Regions from separate parts of the Homo sapiens genome. Here region 1 is linked to region 2. Evidence: promoter capture Hi-C in human tissues and cell types (Jung and others, 2019). All regions are on one chromosome and are shown on one strand. The core of a region is centred on a gene start or on the middle of the fragment in contact, and the rest is flanking DNA. Distances in the headings are between cores, read along the strand shown. Region 1 has its middle 4.5 kb from the start of CCDC43. Region 2 holds the start of ASB16 (ankyrin repeat and SOCS box containing 16).

Evidence for each region. The method cuts DNA at HindIII sites, captures the fragments that hold promoters and counts their contacts. A contact is called where the count stands out against the background at its distance.
Region 1: a fragment that was not itself captured here is called in contact with the fragment with the promoter of ASB16 in region 2 in 1 of the 25 tissues and cell types used here (dorsolateral prefrontal cortex).

The regions. Positions count from the first base shown.
Region 1 is chr17:44,691,379-44,697,154 of GRCh38, reverse strand. No RefSeq gene overlaps it. Among named protein-coding and RNA genes, the nearest start is that of CCDC43, 4.5 kb to the right of the region's middle. The HindIII fragment of the contact is 6,435 bases long and covers 1-5,639 here.
Region 2 is chr17:44,168,584-44,174,211 of GRCh38, reverse strand. It overlaps ASB16 (ankyrin repeat and SOCS box containing 16), which reads right to left and starts at 3,508. Exons shown (of 5, transcript NM_080863.5): 1 at 3,122-3,508; 2 at 1,899-2,166. The coding sequence starts at 3,422. The HindIII fragment of the contact is 17,920 bases long and covers 1-3,901 here.

The sequences.
Region 1 (5,776 bases), core at 1,173-3,672, 520 kb before region 2:
AAAATTAGCCGGGCGCGGTGGCGGGCGCCTGTAGTCCCAGTTACTCCGGAGGCTGAGGCAGGAGAATGGCGTGAACCTGGGAGGCGGAGCTTGCAGTGAGCCGAGATCACGCCACTGCACTCCAGCCTGGGCGACAGAGTAAGACTCCGTCTCAAAAAAAAAAAAAAAAAAAAAAGATGGGTCCGGGTGCAATCTCTTATGCCTGTAATCCCAGCACTTTGGGGGGCTGAGGTGGACGGATTGCTTGAGGCCAGGAGATCGAGATCAGCCTGGTCAACATGGTGAAATCCTGTCTCTACCAAAAAAAAAAAAAAAAAAAAAGATTAAAATGCCAAATTACATATTTTACCACAATTAAAAATAAAAATAAATAAAGAAGTGGGGGTGGTAATGAAACATCTTCAACTACATTATTTTTACTAAGGACTTTTGGTATACTACAAATAATAAATATTTATATTATGTACTTCTTTCTTTTTTTTTTTTTTTCAGACGGAGTCTTGCTCTGTCGCCTAGGCCTGGAGTGCAGTGGTTCAATCTTGGCTCACTGCAACCTCCGCTCCCCGGGTTCAAGCGATTCTTTTGCCTCAGACTCCCGAGTAGCTGGGATTACAGATGCCCACCACCATTGCTCGGCTAATTTTTGTATTTTTAGTACAGACCCGGTTTCACCATGTTGGCCAGGCTGGTCTTGAACCCCTGACCTCAAGTGATCCACCCACCTCGGCCTCTCAAAGTGTTGGGATTACAGGTGTGAGCCATCACGCCCGGCCTACTTCATTTTTTAACGATTTTCTCCTTTTTGTAGTTCTCTTTTTGTATGTTTTATGATGGACATACTAATTTGATATAGCAGTTCACACAAATAATTCATAAATAACTACATATTAGTGCATTAGGTGTACATGCTGAGAATATTTTTACTGCTAAGAGTATGTGGCAAAAATGTCTGATGCTCACTGATCTAGAGGAACTTTCCCATGGTGGGCAAGGGGACCACCTAAGAATGTGAACTGGTGCACTGACTGGAAAACTAGGAACTAACCTCACCATCCATCGGCAGAGGAATGGATCAGCTGGAGCATATTAAAGCAACGGAATACTATGCAGTGATTTAAATGGATGGATAAGAGCTACATATATCAACATGGGTAAAGATATATATAAAATATATATAGATACATATATATTATATATATTTTTTTCTTTTTTTTTTTGAGATGGGGTTTCGCTTTTGTTGCCCAGGCTGGAGTGCAATGGCGCGATCTCGGCTAACCGCAACCTCCGCCTCCCGGGTTCAAGCGATTCTCCTGTCTCAGCCTCCCAAGTAGCTGGGATTACAGGCATGTGCCACCAAACCTGGCTAATTTTGCATTTTTAGTAGAGATGGGGTTTCTCCATGTTGGTCAGGCTTGTCCCGAACCCCTGACCTCAGGTGATCCGCCCGCCTTGGCCTCCCAAAGTGCTGGGATTACAGGCATGAGCCACCGTGCCCGGCCATATACACGTATATATTTTTTGAGACAGGGTCTTGCTCTGTCACCTAGGCTGGAGTGCAGTGGCGCAGTCTTGGCTCACTGCAACCTCCGCCTCCCAGGTTCAAGCTATTCTCCTGCCTCAGCCTCCTAAGTAGCTGGGATTACAGGCGTGCGTGACCACGCCCAGTTAATTTTTGTAGCTTTAGTAGAGATGGGGTTTCACCATGTTGGTGAGGCTTGTCTCAAACTCTTGACCTCAGCTGATCCACCCGCCTAGGCCTCCCAAAGTGCTGGGATTACAGGCATGAGCGACTGCGCCCGGCCCAACATGGGTAAATATTTTAAACAACCTTGAGTGAAAAAGCACATTGCAGAATGAAAAGTACAGCATGCACACCAATGTGATATATTATGGATACATCCATATGTTGTAATATGTATTATATATGTAGCAATGTGTACTATGTTTAAAAACATTCAAGAAGAAAATAAACACCAAATTCAGGAATAGTGGTTACATCTGGGGAGAGAGGGGAGAAAATGAGGTTGGAGAAAGGGCTTCAAATTTGCTTTCTTTTACAAAAAGATACAAAGTAAATAAATATAACAGTTCAAAACCAGTCTCCTTCAGTTCTCCTCCTCAGTGGACAACCATTCTCACATATCCCTGGTGTATCTTTCCAGAGATAGCCTATGCACATACAAGGACACATATGTACATGTATTCCCCTACCCTAACTTCTTTTTAAATAGTGATGGTGGCAAGCATTACATATTGTTGATCTGTACTTTTTAAACAATGTATCTCGAACTTTGATACATGTCAGTGCATAAAGAGCTTCTTTGTTCTTTTTTTTTTTTTTTTTTCGAGACGGAGTCTTGCTCTGTAGCCCAGGCTGGAGAGCAATGGCATGATCTCCTCTCACTGCAACCTCTGCCTCCTGGATTCAAGCGATTCTCCTGCCTCAGCCTCCCGAGTAGCTGGGATTACAGGTGCTTACCACCATGCCCAGCTAATTTTTGTATTTTTAGTTGGCCAGGCTGGTCTCGAACTCTTGACCTCAGGTGATCCACCTGCTTTGGCCTCCCAAAGTGCTGGGACTACAGGCACCAGCCACCGCGCCCGGCCTCTTTGTTCATTTTTTTTTTTTTTTTTACAGCTGTGCAATACTTCTTTGTGTGGCTACCAGAGTTTTTGAACCAGTCTCATATACATAAAATGTAGACTATTCTTTTACTACAAAAAGCTTCACTACAATGAATATCCTTAGAAAAATGTGATTCTACACAAATGCACAGTTTTATTTTTTAAAGACAGAGTTTTGTTCTGTTGTTCAGGCTAGAATGCAGTGGCATCATCATAGCTCATGTAAATTTGAGCTCCTGGGCTCAAGTGATCCTCTTGCCTCAACCTCCTGAGTAGGTAGGACAAAAGACATGCACCACCACTTTTTTTTTTTGTAGAGCTGGGGTCTCATTATGTTGACCAGGTTAGTCTCGAACTCCTGGCCTCAAGCAATCCTCCCTTGTCAGCCTCCCAAAGTACTGGGATTACAGGTGTAAGCCAGTGTGCCTGGCCATTATACAAAATATTAAATCAAAATTTTTTTCTTTTTTTGAGACAGAGTCTCACTCTGTTGCCCAGGCTGGAATGCAGTGGCATTATCTCAACTCACTGCAACCTCCGTGTCCCGAATTCGAGTGAATCTCCTGCCTCAGCTTCTCAAGTGGCCAAGTAGCTGGGACTATAGGCATGCATTACCACACCTGGCTAATTTTTATATTTTTAGTAGAGACAGGGTTTTGCCATGTTGGCTAGACTGGTCTTGAACTCCTGACCTCAGTGATCCACCCACCTTGGCCTCCCTAAGTGCGGGGATTACAGGCGTGAGCCACCGCGCCCAGCCAACCACGCCCAGTTTAAACCACGCCCAGTTTAAACAGGCACCACGCCCAGTTTAAACCAAAAATTTTAAAAATAATTAATACTTAACACTATTAAATCGTATACTTAAAAATAGTTAAGATGGCAAATTGTGTATTTTACCACAAGTAAAGATAAAAATAAATGAATAACTTATGAACAAATTCCCAGAAGCAGAAATGCTGGGTCTTTTCAAACAAACAGTCCTCCAACAAGACCAGATCCATTTACTTTCTGCTCTAACATTTTCCAATGTCTTTTACCCAAGCACAGTTCAATACAGCATATTATCAGACTTTTTTGATCTGAAAAGCGGACGTGGTATTTCACTGCAATCTTAATTTGCGTATTTTATTTTTTGTAAGCTTTCAATTTGTCGCTTATCCATTTATATAATTTTTTCTTTTTTTTTGTTGAGACAGAGTTTTGCCCTTGTTGCCCAGGTTGGAGTACAATGGCGTAATCTCAGCTCACTGTAACCTCCGCCTCCTGGTTTCAAGCAATTCTCCTGCCTCAGCCTCCCAAGTAACTGGGATTACATGCGCCTACCACCATAGCTGGCTAATTTTTTTGTTTTTTTTGTTTTTTTTTGAGATGGAGTCTCACTCTGTTGCCCAGGCTGGAGAGCAGTGGTCAGATCTCGGCTCACTGCAAGCTCTGCCTCCCGGATTCGCGCCATTCTCCTGCTTCAGCCTCCCTAGTAGCTGGGACTATAGGCGCCCGCAACCACACCCAGTTAATTTTTTTTTGTATTTTTAGTAGAGACGGGGTTTCACCTATTATCCAGGATGGTCTCGATCTCCTGACCTCGTGATCTGCCCGCCTCGGCCTCCCAAAGTGCTGGGATTACAGGTGTGAGCCACCGCGCAGGGCCATTTTTTTGTATTTTTTTAGTAGAGATGGGGTTTCACCAGTTGGCCAGGCTGGTCTCGAACTCCCGACCTCAGTTGATCTACCCGCGTTGGCCTTCCAAAGTGCTGGGATTACAGGCGTGAGCCACCGTGCTTGGCCTTATATAATATTTTTTAAAGCATGAGCTATGTTACTTTTGTAGTAAAATAGCCATTGAGGATATTCTTAAAATTTAGGGTCTGGAGAACCTTGATTCAGTTTTTGAGAAGCTTGTTGATGCTTTCAAAAAACCTTATTGCATTATGGCCAGGAGCAGTGTCTCATGCCTGTAATCCCAGCGCTTTGGGATGCCGAAGCAGGTGCATCACCTGAGATCAGCAGTTTGAGACCAGCTTGGCCAACATGGCAAAACCCTATCTCTACTAAAAATAGGAAAAAAATTAGCCGGGTGTGGTGCTGGGTGCCTGTAATCCCAGCTACATGGAAGGGTGAGGCAGGAGAATTGCTTGAACCCAGGAGACGGAGGTTGTAGTGAGCTGAGATCATACCACTGCACTCCAGTCTGGACGACAACCGTGAGACTCCACCTCAAAACAAAAACCAAAAAAACCTTATTGCATAATACCTATATCAATTTCCTGATTTACTATTATACTGTCTTTATGTTTGATGTTACTATTGGGGGAAACTGGGTGAAGGTGTGCAGGACTCTATGTACTATTTTTGAAACTTCTTGTGAGGCTGTATTTCTAAAAAACAAAATTTTGTGATGTTTTTCTGGTTTGGGGGCTCTGCACTGACCAGCTATCATCCTTGAGCCATGATGGCACCCAGGTCTGTGAACTGACAAGCCCTACCTGCAAGACAGCTACTAGATTAGAAAGAATAACTGAGGACTTGAAAAAGAGGCAAGCCTTTGGAGGCTGACTCTGGCCTCTGACTCTGTTAGTGTCACATTCTATCTAACTCAGCGAGCACACAGAAGCCACGCAACTAAAATTCACACTCTGCCATATTTCTTACATTTGTATCTGTGCCATTCATTTAGTGTCCATTCATTTACATAATCCCAATGCCACTAAGGGTAGACCTCTGCAATAAGAGGACCTCTGCAAGGTATACAAACTCCTTTCCTTCTTTTTTTGTTGTTATCCCCTGAATATCTTCTATTTGAATCCTGTAGCTCAAGCCATACATGACTCTCTGGAGGCCCCCTAGCAAGCCTTTGAATTCACAGTTCCCCTGCATCTGGATCTACCCCCTTTTTCCCTCCAGTCCCTTTATGTAAAGAACTCCTACCATTCTTCAAGAAAGTTCAAGCATCATCTCCACTGGGAAGCCTTCCTGGATTTCCTATGAACCTCTCCCCACCTGCTTCCAACTCCACTCCAACAGGTAAAGTTAACTCAATCTTCTAGGCATCCTACTGCAATCTCCGCTAGATAAAGCTCCATTAAAACATTTATATCACTATATTGTCATCATTTGTTTAAACATGTCTGTTCCTAATGGATTAAAAACC
Region 2 (5,628 bases), core at 2,259-4,758:
AAAAATTAGCCGGGCGTGTTGGCGGGAGCCTGTAGTCCCAGTTACTCGGGAGGCTCAGGCAGGAGAATGGCGGGAACCCGGGAGGCGGAGCTTGCAGTGAGCCGAGATCGGGCCACTACACTCCAGCCTGGGAGACAGAGCAAGACTCCGTCTCAAAAAAAAAAAAAAAAAAAATAGCCAGGTGTGGTAGCACTGGCCTGTGATTCCGGCTACCCTGGAAGCTGAGGCAGGAGGATCACTTGAGCCCAGGAGATCGAGGCTGCAAGTGAGTCATGATTGTGCCACTGCACTCCAGCCTGGGCAACAGAGTGAGACCCTGTCTCCAAAAAAAAAATCTAGCCCTGTGTTTCCTAACATCGGTGTGAGGCACCCCCATACCTCTCTTCCCACTTTTTTTTAAGACAGGGTCCCGCCCTGTTGTCCAGGTTGGAGTACAGTGGCAGCATGATCATAGCTCACTGAAGCCTAGACCTCTTGGGCTCAAATGCTTTTCCTGAGTAGCTGGGACTACAATGCACACCACCATGCCCGGCTAATTTTATTTTTTGTAGAGACAGGGTCTCACTATGTTTCCCAGTCTGGTCTTGAACTTCTGAGCTCAAAAGATCATCCTGCCTCAGCCTCCCGAGTAGCTAGGACTAGAGGCTCATGCCACCATACCCGGCTAGTTTTTATTTTTAGTAGAGACAAAAACCTCACTTACGTTGCCCAAACTATTCTCAAACTCCTGGACTCAAGCAATCCTCCTGCCTCCGCCTCCAAAAGTGTTGGGATTACAGGTGTGAGCCACTGAATCTGGCCCATAGGTCTTTTTTTTTTTGAGATGGAGTCTCAACTGTTGCAGGGGCTAGTGTGTAGTGGCACAATCTCGGTTCACTGCAACCTCTGCATCCCGGGTTCAAGCGATTCTCCTGCCTCAGCCTCCCGAGTAGCTAGGATTACAGGCGCCAGCCACCATGCCCAGCCTGGCTAATTTTTTGTATTTTTAATAGAGACGGGGTTTCACTATGTTGGCCAGGCTGGTCTTGAACTCCTGAACTCGTGATCCACCCGCCTCAGCCTCCCAAAGTGCTGGGATTACAGGCGTGAGCCATGGCGCCCGGCTTTTTTTTTTTTTTTTTTTTTTTTAAGACAGTCTCGCTGGAGTGCAGTGGCAGAATCTCGGCTCACTGCAACCTCTGCCTCCCGGGTTCAAGCGATTCTTGTGCCTCGACCTACTAGTAGCTGGAATTACAGGTGTGAGCCACCACACCTGGCCAGATCTTTCTTAATACCTCAAAACAACTAGGAATTTGGGCTGGGCATGGTGGCTCACGCCTGTAATCCCAGCACTTTGGGAGGCCAAGGTGGGTGGATCACTTGAGGACAGGAGTTCAAGACCAGCCTGGCCAACATGGCAAAACCCCATCTCCACTAGAAATGCAAAACCTAGCCAGGTGTGGTGGCACACACCTGTAATTCCAGCTACTTGGGAGGCTGAGGCATTTGAACCCAGGAGGCAGAGGTTGCAGTGAGCTGAGACCACGCCACTGCACTACAGCCTGGGCAACAGAGCAAGACTTCGTCTCAAAAAACAAAAAAAAACAGCTAGGTTTGGCTACAAAGGATTCACAGGGTATTGGAGACTGCAGTTGGAACAGAGTTTTCCCAAAAAGCAACAGGGCTTCTGCCTCCTGGGCTTAGCAGATGTGACCTTGGACAAGTTACTAAGCCTTTCTGAGCTTCATTTTTCTCATCTGTAGGATGAGGTGTCTCCAGGTTATTGTGAAGATGTGTATATGCGGTGCTTTATGAACCACAAAGCTGCATGTGGTTGTCAGGTTCCCTCTTCTGGCCTTGTGAGCTGGAGACACACACACACATTTCTCCCCAAACTGTCTCAGCCCCCAGGCACCTACTGCAAGGACTCGGGGATCGTGCAGAGGTGCAAAGGAGTCGTGCCCTCCTCAGTCAGCACATTAGCCTTGGCTCCGAAGGTCAGCAGCAGCCGCACACAGTCAAACTGGGCTCGGGCACAGGCCTCATGCAAGGCAGCGCGACCCCCGACACGGGCATCCAGCTCAGCTCCCTGCCGGATCAGGTGTCGAGCACAGTCTGTGTAGCCTCGGGCTGTAGCGATGGCGAGGGGTGCCGTCTGCTTGGTCTTGGGGGTCAGCACCCAGAACCCTAGGGAGAGCAAATAGTTTTGGGAGGTGGTGTATAAGACAGGGCAGGGCAGGGAGTGGGGATGCTGGTTCCAGCTGACAGCTGACACTGGCCTTCCCTCTGCATGGTTTGCTGAGCACAAACACTGCCAGGCTGTACCTGTGGAAGGGGGCTTATTCAAGTCCTGAAGTGGAAGAATAAATTGGAACAGCCTTTTAATACAGCTTATCAATCTGTAACAAAACATAGTATGTGTCATAAAAAAATTAATTGCTGTATAAAACCACAGGGGCCAACTAAGTAGAGTGACTCCCATTAAGGAAATCTCAGCGTCTTTGAATGGCTAATAGTGTCAAAGGCTTGTTCACCTTGGGGCCTGGGGTGGTGGCTCACACCTGTAATCCTAGCACTTTGGGAGGCCAAGGCGGGATGATCACTTGACCTCAGGAGTTCGAGATGAGCCTGGGCAACATAGTGAGACCTTGTCTCTTTTTTTTTTTTTTTTAGGCAGGGTCTCGCTCTGTCCCCCAGGCTGGAATGCAGTGGCGCTATCTTGGCTCACTGCAAGCTCCGCCTCCCGGGTTTAAGTGATTCTTCTGCCTCAGCTGCTGAGTAGCTGGGATTACAGGTGCGCACCACCATGCCCGGCTAATTTTTCTATTTTTAGTAGAGATGGGGTTTTACCATGTTGGTCAGGCTGGTCTCAAACTTCTGACTTCGTGATCCGCCTGCCTTGGCCTCCCAAAGTGCTGGGATTACAGGCGTGAGCCACTGTGCCCGGTCAACTTTTAATTCTTAAAAGACATACAGACTGCTAACCCTGCCTCATCTCTGTTTAGGAGGGAGCTAGGATAGGTGGTGGAAAGGGCTGCTATAGTCTGTGGTCTGCAGGGAAGGAGGGGCCTAGACTCTCCCCCTTCCCCACCCACTCCCCTTCTTTCTCCCTCCTCTTCTGCCCTCTTCTGGTGCCCCCTACCCTGTTCAGCCGACCAGGCCAGCTGGTTGCTCACAGTCTCCACAATCATGTTGGCGGCCTCTTCATCTTGGAACAGGGCTTGGACCTGCTGCAGGTTGCCGGAGAAGAGGGCTTGGTGGACAGCTGGGTCTCGGCAGGAACGGTGAGGCCTAGTGAGTCGGGCCCGGGGACTTGACGGGCACCTGCGGCTCCGGCACTGCTGGGCAGCCGCCCGCCGCCGGTCCTCCCATTCCAGCCACTCCTGCTGCAGGCGGAGAGAGCGCAGCATGGAGGAGGTGAAGGGGAAGGTCTCTCTTGCCATGGATGGGGCCCAGGGGTTTGGGCAGTGGCACCTGGGCAGAGCCAGGTTCCCTCGACCCGACTACCTCCCTTGCTCTGAGGAGCCACCCTGCCCCCGCCACCGTGAGCCAGAGAAAGCAGCAGCTGAGGCTATAAATAGGTCCTTTGCTGCTCTGGTAAACATGGTTTGCTCAGAGTCATGATCCTGGTGCTGAGAAGCTGCTGGCCCAACCCCCAGCCCAGGGTGAGGGCCAGCCCCTGCCCCTGCCGATACCCTTTGGTTGGTCAGCAGGCCCTCAGCTGAGGCCACCCCCGAACCCCAGCATCTGCATCCACCTTCATCTCTAGAGCGAGCATCTTGGGTTGGCAAGGTCCAGGGTGCGCAAAAAGGTCAGTCATGGAGATGGGCAGGGCTGGGAGGAAGACAAGGTGCCTCCAGCCTCTCTGATGTTGGCTGGAGGGCAGGAGCCACCATTGGCCCACGTGGAGGAGAGAGGGCTGACCTCAGCACAGGAGGTAAGGGGAGGTCAAGGCAGAGTTACTGAGAAGGTGAGCAGCTCTTCCCAGCATCTGCAGTAACAGCAATAACTCTGTACATATGCACAGAGTTTCACGGTGTTTAAATCACATTCATATCCACCTTCACCCAGGGGATCATACTTCCCAGCCCACCCAATAATTAGTAAACTTGGTTTGGACAATAAATGAAATTATCACAGTTGAATGCCCCTGAGATGGGTGGTCTTATCTCTGTTTTACAGATGAGGAATTTAAGGCTTAACAAAGTAATCTACTGGCTCAAGGTCACAGTTTGTGAGAGGCAGAGCCAGGACCCCACATAGATGGTGTGCTTTGGGCCAAGAATGGTGGCTCATGCCTGTAATCCTAGCACTTTGGGAGGCCAAGACAGGAGGATTGCTTGAGCCTAGGAGTTTGAGACAATCCTGGGCAACACAGTGAGACCTATATCTTTTTTTTTTTTTTTTTTTTTTTTGAGACAGAGTCTCACCCTGTCTCCCATGCTGGAGTGCAATGGCACGATCTTGGCTCACTGCAACCTCCGCCTCCCGGGCTCAAACGATTCTCTTGCCTCAGCCTCCTGAGTAGCTGGGATTATAGGCACCCGCCACCATGCCCAGCTAAATTTTGTATTTTTAGTAGAGATTTAATTTAGGGTTTCACCATGTTGGCCAGGCTGGTCTCGAACTCCTGACCTCGTGGTCTGCCCGCCTCGGCCTCCCAAAGTGCTAGGATTATAGGCGTGAGCCACCACCCCCTGCCTCTCCATCTCTTAAAAAAAGAAGAAAAAAAAAAAAAGATGGTACACTTTTTGCCTTCAGCTGCTGCAGCCACCTGGCAGCCTCCCCCATTCTCCAAGCAGGACAGACTAGTCTGTAGAAACTGCCTTCAATCATCCTTTTTTTTTTTTTCTCATGGTGTCACCCAGTCTGGAGTGCAGTGGGGTGATCTCGGCTCACTGAAACCTCCGTTTCCTGGGGTTCAAGTGATTCTCCTGCCTTAGCTGCCTGAGTAGCTGGGATTATAGGTGCATGCCACCATGCCCAGCTGATTTTTGTATTTTTATTTATTATTATTTTTTTTTTGAGATGGAGTCTCGCTCTGTCACCCAGGCTGGAGTGCAGTGGCGCGACCTCGGCTCACTGCAAGCTCCGCCTCCCGGGTTCACGCCATTCTCCTGCCTCAGCCTCCCGAGTAGCTGGGACCACAGGCGCCTGCCACCACACCTGGCTAATTTTTTGTATTTTTAGTAGAGACAAGGTTTCGCCGTATTAGCCAAGAATAGGATGGTTTCGATCTCCTGACCTCGTGATCCGCCCGCCTCGGCCTCCCAAAGTGCTGGGATCACAGGCGTGAGCCACCGCGCCCGGCCGATTTTTGTATTTTTAGTAGTCGGTTTCGCCATGTTGGCCAGGCTGGTCTGAAACTCCTGACTTCAGGCGATCTGCCCGCCTCGGCCCCCCAAAGTGTTGGTATTACAGGCGTGAGCCACAGCTCCCAGCACCTTCAATCATCCTTGATTTATTTTTTTAACCCAGCTGCTAAGGGGGCTCACATGGCCGGCCTGAGGAGAGCCAAGGGGTTGAGCTGGAAACTCTGGGAATGGACCTAAGATGTTTAAGCCACAGACCTGTTCACTCTTAGGAGAAAGCAGCTGTGCTTCCAGGAGCCTCTAGGGGGAGGAATGAAGCCGTGAAACCACACAAGCT